3 separate regions of the Homo sapiens genome follow, and regions 2 and 3 are each linked to region 1. The links are contacts of gene promoters, found by promoter capture Hi-C in blood cells and fetal thymus (Javierre and others, 2016). All regions are on one chromosome and are shown on one strand. Each heading gives the region's core, a stretch centred on a gene start or on the middle of the fragment in contact. The rest is flanking DNA. Distances are from core to core; before and after follow the strand shown. Region 1 holds the start of RNASE10 (ribonuclease A family member 10 (inactive)). Region 2 overlaps TEP1 (telomerase associated protein 1). Region 3 overlaps TEP1 (telomerase associated protein 1).

Region 1 (3,907 bases), core at 2-2,501:
GCCGGGCGGGGGGCTGACCCCCCCCACCTCCCTCCCGGACGGGGCGGCTGGCCGGGCGGGGGGCTGACCCCCCCACCTCCCTCCCGGACGGGGCGGCTGGCCGGGCGGGGGGCTGACCCCCCACCTCCCTCCTGGACTGGGCGGCTGGCCAGGCGGGGGGCTGATCCCCCCACCTCCCTCCCGGACTGGGCGGCTGGCCGGGCAGAGGGGCTCCTCACTTCCCAGTAGGGGCGGCCGGGCAGAGGCGCCCCTCACCTCCTGGATAGGGCGGCTGGCCGGGCGGGGGGCTGACCCCCACCACCTCCCTCCCGGACGGGGCGGCTGGCCGGGCAGGGGGCTGACCCCCCCTCCCCCCTCCCGGACGGGACGGCTGGCCGGGCAGAGGGGCTCCTCACTTCCCAGTAGGGGCGGCCGGGCAGAGGCGCCCCTCACCTCCCGGACTGGGCGGCTGGCCGGGCGGGGGGCTGACCCCCCCCACCTCCCTCCCGGACGGGGCGGCTGGCCGGGCAGATGGGCTCCTCACTTCCCAGTAGGGGCGGCCGGGCAGAGGAGCCCCTCACCTCCCGGACGGGGCGGCTGGCCGGGCGGGGGGCTGACCCCCCCCCACCTCCCTCCCGGACGGGGTGGCTGCCGGGCGGAGACGCTCCTCACTTCCCAGACGGGGTGGCTGCCGGACGGAGGGGCTCCTCACTTCTCAGACGGGGCGGTTGCCAGGCAGAGGGTTTCCTCACTTCTCAGACGGGGCGGCCGGGCAGAGACGCTCCTCACCTCCCAGACAGGGTTGCGGCCCAGCAGAGGCGCTCCTCACATCCCAGACAGGGCGGCGGGGCAGAGGTGCTCCCCACATCTCAGACGATGGGCGGCCGGGCAGAGACGCTCCTCACTTCCTAGATGGGATGGCGGCGGGGAAGAGGCGCTCCTCGCTTCCTAGATGGGATGGCGGCCGGGCAGAGACGCTCCTCACTTTCCAGACTGGGCAGCCAGGCAGAGAGGCTCCTCGTATCCCAGACGATGGGCGGCCAGGCAGAGACGCTCCTCACTTCCCAGACGGGGTGGCGGCCAGGCAGAGGCTGCAATCTCGGCACTTTGGGAGGCCAAGGCAGGCGGCTGGGAGATGGAGGTTGTAGCGAGCTGAGATCACGCCACTGCACTCCAGCCTGGGCACCATTGAGCACTGAGTGAACCAGACTCCGTCTGCAATCCCGGCACCTTGGGAGGCCAAGGCTGGCGGATCACTCGCGGTTAGGAGCTGGAGACCAGCCCGGCCAACACAGTGAAACCCCGTCTCCACCAAAAAAGTACGAAAACCAGTCAGGCGTGGTGGCGCGCGCCTGCAATCGCAGGCCCTCGGCAGGCTGAGGCAGGAGAATCAGGCAGGGAGGTTGCAGTGAGCCGAGATGGCAGCAGTACCGTCCAGCTTTGGCTCGGCATCAGAGGGAGACCGTGGAAGGAGACCGTGGAGGGAGAGGGAGAGGGAGAGGGAGAGGGAGAGGGAGAGGGAGAGGGAGAGGGAGAGGGAGAGGGAGCAAACTCACTTTTTCATCCTTATGATTTGTCTATATATTCTTTTGGGGTTTCTAAACACAGACACTGTTTCATGGGTGAATCAATCAGAGTTTTACTTTTTCTTGTCTGGCACTGGAGCTCTTTCTTTGTCCTACCCTACAGCATTGGCTGAGACCTCCAGCACCATAACTTGTAGAACCGCAGATCAAGGCACTTTCAGGATTCACATTCAGTGAGGTTTGCCAGAGTTACTTCTGCTCCTCTAGCAATTGATCAGATAACGCTTTTTCATTATTCTTGTTGTATTCGCTGGATACACGCTGCTTGAGCTTTGGAGCCTCGCAGTGGTGTGTACGTGTGGCGGGGGCTGGCCTGTGAGCTCCTCTCCGCTGCTGTCCTTGCTGGGTTAGGGACTGAGGCTACGTTGGCCTCAGGAGCTGGTGAGTGCTCCCTTGTCTTTCTGGAAGAGTTTTGTGGACGTGCATTACTTTCCCTGTAAATGGTTGGTAGAATGCTGTGGTGATGCTGTCTGCGCCTGGAGTTCTTTGTGAGAGAAGGTTGTAATGACAGATTCCTTTTTTTTTTTTTTTTTTTGAGACGGAGTCTCTCTCTGTCGCCCAGGCTGGAGTGCGGTGGCGCGATCTCGGCTCACTGCAAGCTCCGCCTCCCAGGTTCACGCCATTCTCCTGCCTCAGCCTCCCAAGTAGCTGGGACTACAGGCGCCCGCCACCGCGCCCGGCTAATTTTTTGTATTTTTTAGTAGAGACGGGGTTTCACCGTGTTAGCCAGAATGGTCTCGATCTCCCGACCTCGTGACCCGCCCGCCTCGGCCTCCCAAAGTGCTCGAAAATTTATTAAAAAATTATTTATTTTAAAAAAGAGAGAGGACTTCCATGTTGTTCCTTGAGGCACCCAACACCTCTGTGACTTACGTACATGCATAAGCAGCTGCAGAGATTCTTGTGTCCTCTCGTTCCCCAAGTTCTTCCCTCCCAGGGTTTCCTTCTTCGTGAGCAGTGCCCTGGCTGCTAGTCTGAAGAAAAATGGTTATCTTCTGGTGGTCCACGTGCTCTTAAACACACACTTACTTCCTAAACCCACTCCCCGTTTCACTTCCTCCGCCTAGCACTGAACAAACACACTCAGCCAATTCTTTCTGTTCCCACAAACACTTTGAAGTGAGGCTATCTGGGCACTGAGACAGATCCAGACATCCAAGACGGGAAATCTCTCCAGCCTGGGAAACTGCAGACAGTTTTGTTTCATGGATCAATTGTTCTGCTCCTGAGTTACACCCGCTATCCTGTGGTTTATGCAGCCTGACCTTGTGCATGAATCTCAAGTTTAGTCTTTTCTTATATCTGCCACATGTACTTCCTTTAATCCTCTCCTATAATTTCTGCAGTGTCAAGATCTTTGGCCTTTATTTGGCCATCTCTCCAACATGATTATTACTTTACAAGTGTATTATGACAAGATTTAGAGTATTTGAGACAATCATGAGTTTTCACATATCTTTACCTATAACTTTATCCAGTTTTCCACTCTCTACTCCCTCTTTCCATTCCCCTAGCCAATAACCACATTCCCATAAGAATATCTGGATTTTGCAAATCTGATCATTTAGCCCTAGATAGGAGACTATCCAAAGCAGCATTATCATTATCAGTCCCTATACTCTGGGTGAATAAAACCAGGAGGGTTACAATGTTGATCCTAAGGTTCACTTCTTTAGCTGAAATTGACATTCTGAGATAATATTTTTAAAACCACTCTGGAGACTGTTAAGGCACTATAAAAATCATCTGTAGACATAAACACGATCTTTTAAGAAGATGTTTTCCTAAACTGTGGTATAAAAAAATAAAATAAAAATAAAAGAAGATGTTTTCCTTAGTCCTTCAGGCAGAATTTTTCAAATGGTGGTCTAGGAGCCACTTCTGTGATTTACAAAGTCTACTGGGCTGACTTTTGCAGTGCTGGTGTTTATAATTTGCAGTAAGAGCAATGACACCGACTACCAGTATTGAGCACTTCCTTTTGCAAGGCACTGACTGCATTTCACCCTCACATTTGCTTGCGCTATCCCTCTTTGGTGTCTATTCTGCCCATTTATTCTGGTGAGGTCTATTTGCAATGTGAAGAGAAAATCAAGAATTATCTGCTGAGCCCAGCAGCAGTCTAAGGTCAGCAGGGGTAATGTATTCAACAACCATGCATCACCTGCTTCTTTATAACTAAAGAGTTTTGTTACTACTAGAGATCATTTGAAATTAACCTTTAATTAAATACAAAGAAAGAACCTAAGTCTGTGTAAGTATAACCTTTAGACTGGACAGGTTTTTAATTTTCATTTTTATTTCTTTTTCTAGGCTACAGTTTTCTCGTCTTCTAAATTTGA
Region 2 (3,824 bases), core at 201-2,700, 110 kb after region 1:
GAATATATGTATATGTACTTTTTTTTTTTTTTTTTTTTTTTTTAAGAAACAGGGCCTCACTTTGTTGCCAAGGCTGGTCTCCAATTGCTGGGATTACAGATGTAAGCCACTGTGCCCAGCCAAAAATAAATATAAATAAATAAAAGGAAATATAAAAAAAGATATAAGTATAAAATATAAGATAAAATGTAATTGGATATACAGAACCCTTTTTGAAGACCACAGATCTCATTAATAACTCATTAACATTTTTTTGGAATGAAATTAGTGAATTTTGCAATCTTAAGGATAAATGTCCAGTTTATTTTCTAATATCACCAGTATGATATTGGACTTAATTTCTTACCGAAAATGATCTAGAAAACCTTTTATACATAGTAACAGTGGAAAAAACTTGAGTCGACAATGGATGCAATAGTTCATTTATAGTACATATACAACCTAATTGTTCCATACAGTTTGTGAATCAGAATTATGACTGGAGGCCAGGCACCATGGCTCACGCCTGTAATCCCAGCACTTTGGGAGGCTGGGGCGGGCAAATCACTTGAGCTCAGGAGTTTGAGACCAGCCTGAGCAACATGGTGAAACCCCGTCTCTAACCAAAAATAGAAAAATTAGCTGGGCATGGTGGTTGATGTCTGTGGTCCCAGCTGCTTGGGAGGTTGAGGCAGGAGGATTGCTTGAGCCTGGAAAGTGGAGGTTGCAGCGAGCCAAGATTGTGCCACTGAGTGACAGAGACAGACTCCATCTCAAAAATAAAAAAAAAAAGAATGATGACTGGAGAATCCCAAGACTTCCAGAGGGCTGAAAGCTTCCAGCTATAATTCAAATAAGACTTACATCCCCTTTACAAAGGGAGCAGCATTTACCTGATGAAGCTGCTGATGGTGTGGGCTGGTGCACAAGGCATGGTGACGGACTGACCGGCCTGGCCTCTAAAGTGGTTTGAATGCACCTCTGTCCAGGAAAAGAAAATCACACCTCCTATTTATGTTTACTTTTATCTAAAAGAAAAGAATTTTCCCAGTACTTACCATGCAGATTGAACCCACATAGTCACTGAATCCATATGATACAGTGTTATGTGTTACGTGTAATAGTTGAGGTTTTCTGAGCATCCACAATCTGAGGGCATTAATGTCACCCCTTCACTCTTTTTTTTTTTTAATTTTGGTTTCTATATAATTTGACTTATAGCAATTTATCTTTCAATTGTAGATGGATTTGGAATTATATTATTCAGTATTAACCAAATTAACTGTCTAAAATTGATATAAACCTTTTTTTTTTTTTTTTGGGCGGAGTCTCACTTTGATGCCCAGGCTGGAGTGCAATGGCGCGACCTCGGCTCACTTCAACCTCCGCCTCCCAGGTTCAAGTGATTCTCCTGCTTCAGCCTCCTGATTAGCTGAGATTACAGGCGACCACCACCACGCCCGGCTAATTTTTGTATTTTTAGTAGAGATGGGGTTTCACCGTGTTAGCGAGGATGGTCTTGATCTCCTGACCTCATGATCCGCCTGAGTCGGCCTTCCAAAGTGCTGGGATTACAGGCGTGAGCCACTGCACCCGGCCTAAAATTGATATAAACCTTAAAAATATTATTATTAAGAAACTATGGGCTGGGCATGGTGGCTCACGCCTGTAATCCCAGCAATTTGGGAGGCCGAGGCAGGCAGATCACTGTAGATCGGGAGTTTGAGACCAGCCTGGCCAACATGGTGAAACCCCGTCTCTACTAAAAATACAAAAATTAGCCAGGCATGGTGGTGAGCACTTGTAATCCCAGCTACTCGGAGGCTGAGGCAGGAGAATTGCTTGAATCCAGGAATCAGAGGTTGCAGTGAGCTGAGATTGCACCACCACACTCTAGCCTGGGTGACAGAGTGAGACTCCGTCTCAAAAAAAAAAGAAAAGAAACTATGGCTTGAAGATAATATTAATAACACAGGTACAAGGGAACAATAAGGAAGTGACAGAGGTCAGTGGTGAAATTCTATCTCCAGTGCAAATCTTTTTCACCTATATTTAAGCAAAAAAAGTAATGACTAATCAAATAGAAGAAATTGGGTGAGAAGCTTACAAATTATGAAGACTATTTCAAATATGGATTTACATACATTCGTCATTATAAATGGTGAACTTTTTTTTAATTTTTTTTTTGGAGACAGAGTCTTGCTTTGTCACCCAGGCTGCAGTGCAGTGGCGTGATCTCGGTTCACTGCAACCTTCGCATTTTGGTTTCAAGCGATTCTCCTGACTCAGCCTTTCGAGTGGCTGGGATTAGAGGCACCAGACACCACGCCTGGCTAATTTTTGTATTTTTGTAGAGACGGGGTTTCATAAATGGTGAACCTTCTTTTAAATGGATATTGTGCCTTGAAATATTAACTAATGAATGTGCTACATTATGTTAGTATATACTTCATAAATCAACTTACACTACGAAATTTCTCTTTTGGCCATCTAAAAAGTTTAGAAACCTTTGCTCTAGACTAGATAATACATTTTGCCAGTTGAACCCAATCTTAGGGCTAGAGCCAACAGATTAAGTGGTAACATAACAGCCATCCCATAAACAGTGTTGCATAAATTTTGTTCCAAACTTTGGGCCAACCCTGTTTTTAATCTTTCCAAGCCTTTAAAACATTTTGAGTAGGGTAGATTGTATGTGAATTCCTCACTTCCTCTATCTTGGACTTTCCACATGCCTGGTTTCTGAACTTCTTGCTCTGGTCTCTGACCTCTCTCTAATCATCCCTCATTTGCTTTTTTTTTTTGAGACAGTCTTGCTATGTTGCCCAGGCTGGACTCTAATTCCTGGGTTCTGGGCTCAAGTGATCCTTCTGTCTCAGCCTCCTTGGTAGCTGAGATTATAGGTGCATGCCACTGTGCCTGGCCTTCTCATTTGTTTTTCTCACTCTATGCCCCACATTCCACAGAAAATGGGAAGCTTCCCTTCATGGCCATGCTTCGGAACCTGTGCAACCTGCTGCGGGTTGGAATCAGTTCCCGCCACCATGAGCTCATTCTCCAGAGACTCCAGCATGCGGTATGTGTGAGGGGCTGGTAGCCATGGGGCCCAGCAACTAGATGTGCACGTGGAGAGGCCACTGCTGCTTTAGAGGCCAGGCTTTTTCAGGGGGCAGAGGCAGGTACGGCCCTCAAGCTGTTTCCATGTGGGCTGTAAGTAGATCTGGGAATACAGCTAGGTTGAGGGAGATAAGTTTTGGGGTTCAGTAAATCCTTTGAGAAGTTACAGTAGAGTATAAGAACTTTCATTTTAATTTTCTGAGCTCAGTGACTTACCAGGAAGAGACACTTGTGTGATGTAACTGATTTCAGAAGGAGTCTTTGTTTTTTATTTATAGAGATGGGGTTTTGCGATGTTGGCAAGGCTGGTCTCAAACTCTTGAGCCCAGGCAGTCCACCTGCCTAAGGCTCCCAAAGTGCTGGGATTACAGGCGTGAGCTACCACACCCTGCCCAGAGGGAGTCTTAAAAGAAACGGGGCTCCTTCTGTTACTTTCTCTTCTTTTGTTACCTTTTCTCACATCCTAAAATGATGACTTTTTTCTTTCTTCTTATTACCCCTTTTCTATATCTCTTGTCTAAGTTCATTTTGTCCTTCTGTACCTTCCCACAAAGCTAATAGAGTGGACCCCTGAAGCCCCCCATACTCCCGGCTCCTGTGCTCATGACCCCTCCCTCCTTTGCTTTCTAGAAGTCGGTGATCCACAGTCGGCAGTTTCCATTCAGATTTCTTAACGCCCATGATGCCATTGATGCCCTCGAGGCTCAACTCAGAAATCAAGGTATTCT
Region 3 (3,842 bases), core at 614-3,113, 120 kb after region 1:
CAGGCATCTCTTGTGTCAGCCCTGCAGGCTCCTGATGGGGCCAAGGTGGCATCATTAGTCTTCTTCCACTTTTCTGGGGCTCGTCCTGACCAGGGTCTTGCCCTCACTCTGCTCAGACGCCTCTGTACCTATCTGCGTGGCCAACTAAAAGAGCCAGGTGCCCTCCCCAGCACCTACCGGTGGGTATCCCCCAATGAGCCCAGCCTTGTTGATGCCCACGTACCACCCCTGCTTTTTTTTTCTCTCCCACTGACCCTGACTTCCTCTCCATGTACAGAAGCCTGGTGTGGGAGCTGCAGCAGAGGCTGCTGCCCAAGTCTGCTGAGTCCCTGCATCCTGGCCAGACCCAGGTCCTGATCATCGATGGGGCTGATAGGTTAGTGGACCAGAATGGGCAGCTGATTTCAGACTGGATCCCAAAGAAGCTTCCCCGGGTGAGTGTGAGAAGGAGGTGGGTGTCGGGAGGCAGGCTGGGGAGAAGGAGGGATACGGCACGGAGGAGAGAGGCCTCTCCAATGTGGTTCTCCTTTTCTTTCTACCTTCCTGCCCCTTTGCCCAAATATCACAGTGTGTACACCTGGTGCTGAGTGTGTCTAGTGATGCAGGCCTAGGGGAGACCCTTGAGCAGAGCCAGGGTGCCCACGTGCTGGCCTTGGGGCCTCTGGAGGCCTCTGCTCGGGCCCGGCTGGTGAGAGAGGAGCTGGCCCTGTACGGGAAGCGGCTGGAGGAGTCACCATTTAACAACCAGGTTGGGTTCTAGGCCGGGGCCGGTGGGTGTGTGGGGTGAATCTGGGAGCTATGAGGACCTGGGGTGCCGAGGCCGCTAGCTGCCTTGCACAGACCTGCTCCTTTGTTTTCTCAGAAATTCTGTCCATGGGAAGTTGTTAATAAGAAAATTGTGATTCCTGATCATGTCACCCAGCCCTCTTCCCCCGGTGAATGGCCTTTCCAGGGCCTCTCGGGGTGAGGGGATGAGTCAAGTGGTTTTTGGTGGGGTAGGCCGAGCCACAGGGGTTTTCTGGCAGGGCTGGCTGGGCAGAGCAGCGTAGGAGAGGGATGGTTTGTGTCCTGGGATGATGCCATGGACCTGGCGTCTGCTGGGGACTCTCAGAGGAGGAGCTGCCTGGCAGAGGGGCTGGTGCTGGGGCAGAGGGCTGGCTGCGGGCAGCCCTCCTGGACCCCACCCTGAGTCCTGAGTCTTGCCAGATGCGACTGCTGCTGGTGAAGCGGGAATCAGGCCGGCCGCTCTACCTGCGCTTGGTCACCGATCACCTGAGGCTCTTCACGCTGTATGAGCAGGTCAGTTCTCATCACCTTCCAAGTCCTAATCACTACTTCCCATTCTCTCTTCAGCTGCTTTGTCTCATCCCTATCCCACGTCCTTTGCTGTCTTGTGATCACCCACTCCCTATCCTCGCCTCATACCTCGCCTCACTTCCCTCCTACTGTTGTTCTTTACTTTTTCATTCCTCCACACTGTCCTCCTGCTGCCCCTTCCCTATCCCACAAGCCAAGCTGCTTCTCCTCCCACTGCACTGAACAAGGCTGTCCTCCCGCCATCCTAGGTGTCTGAGAGACTCCGGACCCTGCCTGCCACTGTCCCCCTGCTGCTGCAGCACATCCTGAGCACACTGGAGAAGGAGCACGGGCCTGATGTCCTTCCCCAGGCCTTGACTGCCCTAGAAGTCACACGGAGTGGTCAGTGCTTGGGGTGGGTTGGTTGGGAGGCTGAGGGCCAGGGTTCGGATTACATTGGTTCCCTTGGGGTCTCAGCAGGCAGTTCAAGGAGAGACTGGGTGTGGTGGGGGCGGGGACACCGTATGGTTAGATGAGGGCCTCAGAGAGCTTGAGTTTTCAGGTTTGACTGTGGACCAGCTGCACGGAGTGCTGAGTGTGTGGCGGACACTACCGAAGGGGACTAAGAGCTGGGAAGAAGCAGTGGCTGCTGGTAACAGTGGAGACCCCTACCCCATGGGCCCGTTTGCCTGCCTCGTCCAGAGTCTGCGCAGGTACAGGTGCCCCAGCAGAGCTCCCGCTGACCTCTCTGTGCCTTCCCTTCTTTGAGCCGGGGCCCTCTGTATAGCTTCAACAACTGGCTCCCAGACCATGAATGAGCTACTGCTCCAGCTGCTCCAGTTTCCGCTATTTGAGGGGGGAATAGGAGCCCACTGTGTGCCAGGAAGCTCACTGACAGGCCTCTTCCTTCTTCTCTCTCCCTTCCTCACACGAGGACAGTTTGCTAGGGGAGGGCCCTCTGGAGCGCCCTGGTGCCCGGCTGTGCCTCCCTGATGGGCCCCTGAGAACAGCAGCTAAACGTTGCTATGGGAAGAGGCCAGGGCTAGAGGACACGGCACACATCCTCATTGCAGGTGATTGCAGCCCAAGTCAGCCTGGGCACTGAGTGTGGGGCTTGGGCCTGGAGGCCAGGACCACCCACTGTGCTCCCATCTGCTGGCCAGCTCACCTACTGCCCTTGGGAATGATGCAGGGCTGAGCCTTTCTCAATATCTGTTCATGCAGCTCAGCTCTGGAAGACATGTGACGCTGATGCCTCAGGCACCTTCCGAAGTTGCCCTCCTGAGGCTCTGGGAGACCTGCCTTACCACCTGGTTAGTTCCTAGACCCCATAGACACCTTTCCCAAAGTGAGTGCTTTGGTTGCTCTGAGACCCCTCTCCCCGTTACCATCTCCACCATCACCGCCGCCATTACCCCTCCCAAACTCCCTTGACCTCTTTCCTTTCAGTTTTCCTGCCCTTCTTCTTCAAGTCCTTTGTCCCAGCTCAGATCCTATCTCTGTATCCAGGTTCTGAGACTAAACTGTCCCTTCTCACCAGCCCCTTCATATCCCTAATGAATTCAATCTGACCTTCTCAGCTCCAGAGCGGGAACCGTGGACTTCTTTCGAAGTTCCTTACCAACCTCCATGTGGTGGCTGCACACTTGGAATTGGGTCTGGTCTCTCGGCTCTTGGAGGCCCATGCCCTCTATGGTGAGATGAGTCACTGGCTGGGTTCTTCTCTGAGATATGGGACTCCTGGGTGTGCTTATGGGGGCCCTGCTCAGGGTTGGGGCAGGGGTGTGGGTGTCAGGGAAAAAAGATTCAAATTTCCATTTCGAGTTGAAAATGCCAAGAGGGTGAGCACGTGACTCTCAGGAGACCTTTCACCTTGATCTCTTGGACCAGAGATTCTTCAACTTTATTTAGTTAGCATAAAACTATCTAGGAAACTTGTTCAAATTGCAGATCCTTGGGTCTCCATATTCTGGTTTCCTAGGTTTGGAGTGGGGCTCAAAGCTTTGTACTTTTAAGAGATATTCCTGATATAGGGCCAGAGGGCCACACTTTGAGACTTACTATTGTAGACACACCATATGGTTTTATTTGGTGCTGGGGCTAATGGGGTCCAGCTGGCTCCCCAGTGACATTCTGCCACCCTTTTATAGCTTCTTCAGTCCCCAAAGAGGAACAAAAGCTCCCCGAGGCTGACGTTGCAGTGTTTCGCACCTTCCTGAGGCAGCAGGCTTCAATCCTCAGCCAGTACCCCCGGCTCCTGCCCCAGCAGGCAGCCAACCAGCCCCTGGACTCACCTCTTTGCCACCAAGCCTCGCTGCTCTCCCGGAGATGGCACCTCCAACACACACTACGATGGCTTAATAAACCCCGGACCATGAAAAATCAGCAAAGGTAAGACCTTGACCCCAGACCCTAGTAAGCCCACCAGAGAGCAAGCTGCAGCTCTTTCTGAAACTGAGGAATAAGGATGACCAGAAACACTGGAGAGGGATCCAGGCACAGAAGCACATAAATCAACTCCTGTTTGCATTCTCTCGTTTATTTCC

Evidence for each region. Contacts are between HindIII fragments. The CHiCAGO score rates a contact against its expected background, and 5 or more counts as called.
Region 2: a contact is called between a fragment that was not itself captured here and the fragment with the promoter of RNASE10 in region 1, in 4 of 17 cell types (M0 macrophages, total B cells, naive B cells and 1 more). The highest score is 5.9, in M0 macrophages.
Region 3: a contact is called between a fragment that was not itself captured here and the fragment with the promoter of RNASE10 in region 1, in 1 of 17 cell types (naive B cells). The highest score is 5.4, in naive B cells.

The regions. Positions count from the first base shown.
Region 1 is chr14:20,502,881-20,506,787 of GRCh38, reverse strand. It overlaps RNASE10 (ribonuclease A family member 10 (inactive)), which reads right to left and starts at 1,251. Exons shown (of 2, transcript NM_001386206.3): 1 at 769-1,251. The HindIII fragment of the contact is 24,242 bases long and covers 1-3,907 here.
Region 2 is chr14:20,395,852-20,399,675 of GRCh38, reverse strand. TEP1 (telomerase associated protein 1) reads left to right here. Exons shown (of 55, transcript NM_007110.5): 10 at 2,946-3,055; 11 at 3,727-3,817. Among named protein-coding and RNA genes, the nearest start is that of TEP1, 16 kb to the left of the region's middle. The HindIII fragment of the contact is 1,267 bases long and covers 817-2,083 here.
Region 3 is chr14:20,380,080-20,383,921 of GRCh38, reverse strand. TEP1 (telomerase associated protein 1) reads left to right here. Exons shown (of 55, transcript NM_007110.5): 25 at 4-179; 26 at 278-434; 27 at 569-748; 28 at 1,207-1,299; 29 at 1,566-1,698; 30 at 1,859-2,009; 31 at 2,236-2,369; 32 at 2,521-2,609; 33 at 2,877-2,991; 34 at 3,447-3,687. Among named protein-coding and RNA genes, the nearest start is that of TEP1, 32 kb to the left of the region's middle. The HindIII fragment of the contact is 2,872 bases long and covers 428-3,299 here.